Regions from separate parts of the Homo sapiens genome. Here region 1 is linked to region 2. Evidence: promoter capture Hi-C in 16 types of primary human blood cells and fetal thymus (Javierre and others, 2016). All regions are on one chromosome and are shown on one strand. Each heading gives the region's core, a stretch centred on a gene start or on the middle of the fragment in contact. The rest is flanking DNA. Distances are from core to core; before and after follow the strand shown.

Region 1 (2,927 bases), core at 23-2,522, 120 kb after region 2:
AATTTCCCAAAGAACTAAAAATAGATCTATGATTCAATCCAGCAATCCCACTACTGAGTATCTACCCAAAGGAAAAGAAGTCATTATATCAAAAAGACACCTGCACACATATGTTTATTGAAGCACAATTCACAATTGCAAGGATATGGAATCAACCTAAGTGCCCATCAACCTATGAGTAGATAAAGAAAATGTCAAGCACATGCTAGTAGTTGTACAGATTACTCCTCTCCTTTCTTCTAGTACTTTTCTAAGGAACTCACTTTGATCCCCAGATGGAAGGGTCCCTCGCTGCCTTTCTTCCCTCACTATCTGCTGCATCCCTAGCTCCATCTAGGGGTTTCATACCCAGCATACGGCGCTGAGAATAGCTGACTGTGCTCCAAACCACTTTCATGATATGGAAAATCAACTAAAGAAAATGTGATACTACTCAGGCATAACAAAGAATGAAATAATGTCTTTTGTAGCAACCTGGATGAAACTGGAGGCCAATATTCTAAGTGAAGTAACCCAGGAATCGAAAACCAAATACCACATGTTCTCCCTTATAAATGGGAGCTAAGCTATGGGTATGCAAAGGCATACAGAGTGGTATATTAGACACTGAAGACTCAGAAAGTGGGAAGGGTAGGAGGGGGTGAGGAATGAAAAACTACATAATGGGTACAATGTACATTACTCTAATGACAGGTGCACTAAAATCCTAGACTTCACCACTATACAATCCATCTGTGTAACCAAAAACCACTTGTACCCCTAAAGCTATTGAAATAAAAACATTTTTTTAAACCGATCATATGTAATACACATGCAAAGAAATTCTTGGAATGCCTTAAGAATTGCATTGGTCCACAGGCTTCAGGTCAAGCACAAGGTAGTAGTTGTACAGATTACTCCTCTCCTTTCTTCTAGTTCTAAGGAACTCACTTTGATCCCCAGATGGAAGGGCCCCTTGTGCCTTTCTTCCCTCACTATCTGCTGCATCCTTAGCTCCATCCAGTAGTTTCATATCCAGCATACAGCGCTGATAATAGCTGACTATGCTCCAAACCACTTCCATGATATGGAAAATCAACTAAAGTATCTGCCACCATGGATACTGACTCAGTTCTATCCTCTGTGTGTAAAAGAGACAACTATTAAAAAATAAAGCTCAAAGGCTGGGTGCAGTGGCTCACGCCTGCAATCCCAGCACTTTGGGAGGCCAAGGTGGGCAGATCACAAGGTCAGGAGATTGAGATCATCCTGGCTAACACGGTGAAACTCCCTCTCTACTAAAAATACAAAAAATTAGCCAAGCGTGGCGGCGGGCGCCTGTAGTCCCAGCTACTAGGGAGGCTGAGGCAGGAGAATTGCTTGAACTAGGGAGGTGGAGGTTGCAGTGAGCCGAGATCATGCCACTGCACTCCAGCCTGGGTGACAGAGTGAGACTCCGTCTTAAATAAATAAATAAATAAATAAATAAATAAATAAATAAATAAAAATAAAGCTCAAAAAGACAAAAGAGTACTCATTTAATCTTCCTTTTTCTTTTTTTTTCTGGAGGGTTTTGTGGTTTTCTTAGTATTCATGGGAAAACGTGTTTAGGAATGTCCTGTCTTTGGACCCACATGTGAAATCCTTTGTGGCAAAAACGTAACATAACTATTCAACTTAATTTGAGGAACTGGAATTTTTTTATCAAATACTGCTAGAAATCAGCTTGCCATCAACTGGAGCCAACATCCACATATGCACCCACATAAACACACAGAGAGATTTTCACTCTGGTGATATTTGTTGTTTGGGGATTTGATAGGTGTTGGCTGCCAAGGACATCTGTCTGCAGCTGCATAAACCCTCTTTGTCCAAGGATGTGGGCAATAGTATCATTATTAACACAGACATTTTCTCTCTACAGGAAGAGAAAGGCAACTTTAAAAAAATGATTTTTTGGCCAATTCTATTATTCCTTTCTGGTTCTGCTGCTGAGGAAGAATGCTGAAGGGGAAATCAGTGGTTGTCCTCTCATATCTGGGCTCACTGAGGAACTCAGCATGTACGTTAGCCTCGGAGAGGATGAAACAAATTCACAAACAAAACACCTCTCTTGTTGGAAATTCATTTACATAAAATAAGAATCCAGGTATGATCCTTTACCTGAACCCCACACAAGTGGCAATTGTATTACTTTGGCAGTTTAGATGGAGAAGCCTGGACAACATTTTCTGCATATAAAATTGAAAGCTCTCTGAAGACCAAGGGCAGCAGTCTTGGGTAGTTCTTGGGTATAGCTCCTATCAACATAGCACTGTGCAATGAAGTCTGTCATACATGTTTCTGGGTGAGGGTGAAGATATGCTAACCTGCACTGTCCATTCCCAGCTTCTTTTCGTTGATTTCTTTTGGTTTGGTTATGCTCTTTTCTTCTTCAGAAACCAATGGAAGGTTTGGCTCCTCCTCCTTTGGTTCCACCTGAAACAGGAAAAGAAAGAGCTTGAATCCTACTGAAGTGCTTTCCAACCACGCCTGCATGGTTGCCAAAGAAAAAGCATCAGGAAAAAAGTTCTTGATGCTGGGCACGTAACAGTACCTTTAAAGATGGACGTTATTTCAATGGAGATATTTCCAGGGATTTCTTAATGGAATTGTTTCCACCAAGAGATCCTTGGGGATCATTTTACCTACTGGAAGTGGTTCATCCAGGTTTGGAGTTTCTAATGTCTGAGTGACACACTGCAGGGATCCCTCTAAAATACCCTGGAAATGACTGAACCACACTGGAAGGCCACGAATCTGAAAACGGGGTCATTGGGCCTGACAACAATCATGCCCTCGGCCATATTGGGATTCTCCGATTTGCTTCACCAGACCTGTGAGTCAAATTCAAATCCTTTTTGGCTTCTTTTCAGGGAATGTAATGAAAGCATGAATTATCTCTTTCC
Region 2 (2,788 bases), core at 92-2,591:
TGGCTGCAGCAGGGGGCAACAATAGGTCTTCAGGCCCCTGGGGCGGCAACCTGGCACTGCCCAAGAGCCCGCAGGCTCTGAAGGCCAACTGAGCCAGCGGCAAGCCTAGTCCCTGCCTCCCTGCTTGGAGCAGTGCGACTATACCGTTTTCTGTCTGCTCATTTGTGAGCTTGGTTCCCGTCCTAAATGTGGGGGTTCAAGGCAGACAAAGAGTGTGCAGTTGGCCACCCCGCTCGCCTTCAGGAAGTGTGTAGGACACCGTCGAGGCCCCCTAGCCATTGTAAACCAGGCGCTGAGGCTCGTGCCCAGTTGTACCCTTCCCGCGCAGCGCTCAGGAGCGACAAACCTGGAGGCTATTCGGTCTGCCACTGGGCTGTGCCGGGATTCGCGGACTTTCTCCTGAATAGCGCTCTCAGCTCGCGTCTTCCCCCTGCCACTCTCCCACGCCCCCAGAGTACCCACCGACCCCAGCAGGCCGGGTACATCCCTGCCGCGCCCATCCGGCCAGTGGCTCCAGGGGCCGGCCTGGTGTGTCTCCAGCTGGGCGCCTACCGCCTGCCCCAGCGCTAGTTCTGGCGTTGGGGGTAGAGAGGTAAAGAGGGGAGTTAGCGGGGCATCTCCCTCCCAGGGCTGAGCCGGCAAGCGCATCTTCTCCGCGAGTTCCTCACTGTCCAGCGAGCGCTGCCCAACTTCTGCGCCGGTGGGACCCGCTGCTCTGAGTCACTCTTGGCACAGAACACCAAGCACCCTCAGAAACCGAATTCACCACCTTTGGGAGGCTCCTGGGAGAAGGCAAGGAACCCAGGCGGGGCTCCCAGGGCTCTCGGGCTGGGACTGGGTTGTGTGTGTGTGGGGGGGCTTCACGGATACCCCTCCCAACCTGCTTCCTTTCCCTGACAGCAGCCATCTCCCCCAAGAGGGAGAGTCTTAGGCGTCCCGGAAGACCCTGCGGACTGTGCACCTCGAGGTACCAGCCTCTCCTGGGAGGAGTGGGGGGCCGCTGGTCAGCGGCTGGCAGAGGGGACCTGTTTGCTGGCCCGTTTGGAGGTGGGATGGAGTGGGGTTTGGAGACTGAGAAGCCCAAGAGAAGACACTGAGTTTCTCCCCACCCCACAACCCCACTTCCGAAAAAGAACCAGGTGGTGAGGAGGAATAAGGCGAAGTGTAAACACAAACAACCTCAAAAAGAAGCCAAGAAAAGCGAAGCCCAAAGAAGCAAGAGCAACACTGTTACAAAACTGTCTGGTTTTGTAACAATTTCCCCGCCGCCGGCCAATGAACAGCGTGGCGGCACGTCACGTGGTACCGTTTTATATAACACTTTGCTGAGACAAGACAGTTATTAGGCGGCGCGGGGCGGCCGGCATGGAGCTCCCGGAGGCGCGGCAGGGTCAGGAGCTCGGTGGCATGGCGGCGGTGGCTGCCCCGATTTCCTCCAGCTGCCACTCCTTGCTTCGTGTCCCCGGTCCCTAGACGCCTCGTCTCCTCCCGTGTCCCTCTTCCCATGGAGTCAGTACGGATCGAACAGATGCTGAGCTTGCCCGCTGAGGTCAGCAGCGACAACTTGGAGTCGGCGGAGCGAGGGGCATCAGCGGCCCAAGTAGACATGGGCCCCCACCCAAAGGTGGCTGCAGAGGGCCCCGCACCTCTACCGACGCGGGAGCCAGAGCAAGAGCAGTCTCCGGGGACCTCAACGCCGGAGAGCAAAGTCCTGCTCACGCAGGCAGACGCCTTGGCGTCCCGGGGGCGAATCCGTGAAGCCCTCGAGGTGTATAGACAGCTCTCCGAGCGGCAGCAGCTGGTGGCTGAGCAGCTGGAGCAGCTGGTGCGCTGCCTGGCGGAGAAAGTCCCGCAAGGCGAGGCGCTGGCGCCGGCGCCCCCGGACGAGGGTAGCACTGCAAGCGGCACCGTGGCGGCGGAAGAGACGGGGGCCGCCGCGGCTGCGGCGGCCACCGAGGTGTGGGACGGCTTTAAGTGCCGGAAATGTCATGGGTTTCTATCAGACCCCGTGTCCTTGTCGTGTGGCCACACCTTTTGTAAACTGTGCCTGGAACGTGGGCGGGCCGCCGACCGGCGCTGTGCGCTGTGCGGGGTCAAGCTCTCCGCCTTGATGGTGGCCACTGGGCGGGCGCGTGGAGCCCGGCGGGCTGGGCAGCAGCCGCCGCCGCCGCTGCGAGTCAACGTGGTGCTCAGCGGCCTCCTCGGCAAGTTGTTTCCAGGCCCAGCGCGAGCGTCGCAACTCCGGCACGAGGGCAACCGACTGTACCGCGAGCGCCAGGTGGAGGCGGCACTGCTCAAGTACAACGAGGCAGTTAAGTTGGGTGAGTCCAACGCGCTGCCGGGCCGGGGCTGGGGCTCGGTGGCTACATGAGGGAGCGGGAGAACAAACCCCGCAGCGAGAAGGGATTTGGACCAGGGCAGAAGAGGGGGCGGGGGACCCATGGACTGTGGCGGGGTGGGGGAGGGGTGATTCTGGGGCTGGGTCTCTGAGTTTGTTCTGTTTTCACTGCTTATCTGTGTTTCACTGTGTTTGTGTTGATCTCGGTTGCTTTTTGTCTTTTCCTGCTACTTCTGTTAGCTTTTGTGTTCCTGTCTCTCAGTCCCCGTTCCTGTCTGTGTCTCCTTGCTTCTGGTTCTTTTTCTCCGTCTCTTCGTATCTTTGTCACTGTTTCTTTCTTTTTCGGTGTCACTGTCTCTGTTCCTCTGACTCTCCTTCTCCCGCTGCACTCCTGGTCTCCTCTTACACCTGCTCGCACCTTCCCAGCGAGGAGAGGAACTTCGCGCGCTC

What was found. The method cuts DNA at HindIII sites, captures the fragments that hold promoters and counts their contacts. A CHiCAGO score of 5 or more calls a contact.
Region 1: a fragment that was not itself captured here is called in contact with the fragment with the promoter of LONRF3 in region 2 in 5 of 17 cell types (total B cells, monocytes, M0 macrophages and 2 more); the score reaches 9.2 in total B cells.

The regions. Positions count from the first base shown.
Region 1 is chrX:119,091,319-119,094,245 of GRCh38, forward strand. KIAA1210 reads right to left here. Exons shown (of 12, transcript NM_001394962.1): 8 at 2,349-2,457. Among named protein-coding and RNA genes, the nearest start is that of CT47C1, 20 kb to the left of the region's middle. The HindIII fragment of the contact is 6,964 bases long and covers 1-2,927 here.
Region 2 is chrX:118,973,277-118,976,064 of GRCh38, forward strand. It overlaps LONRF3 (LON peptidase N-terminal domain and ring finger 3), which reads left to right and starts at 1,342. Exons shown (of 11, transcript NM_001031855.3): 1 at 1,342-2,321. The coding sequence starts at 1,505. The HindIII fragment of the contact is 6,269 bases long and covers 1-2,788 here.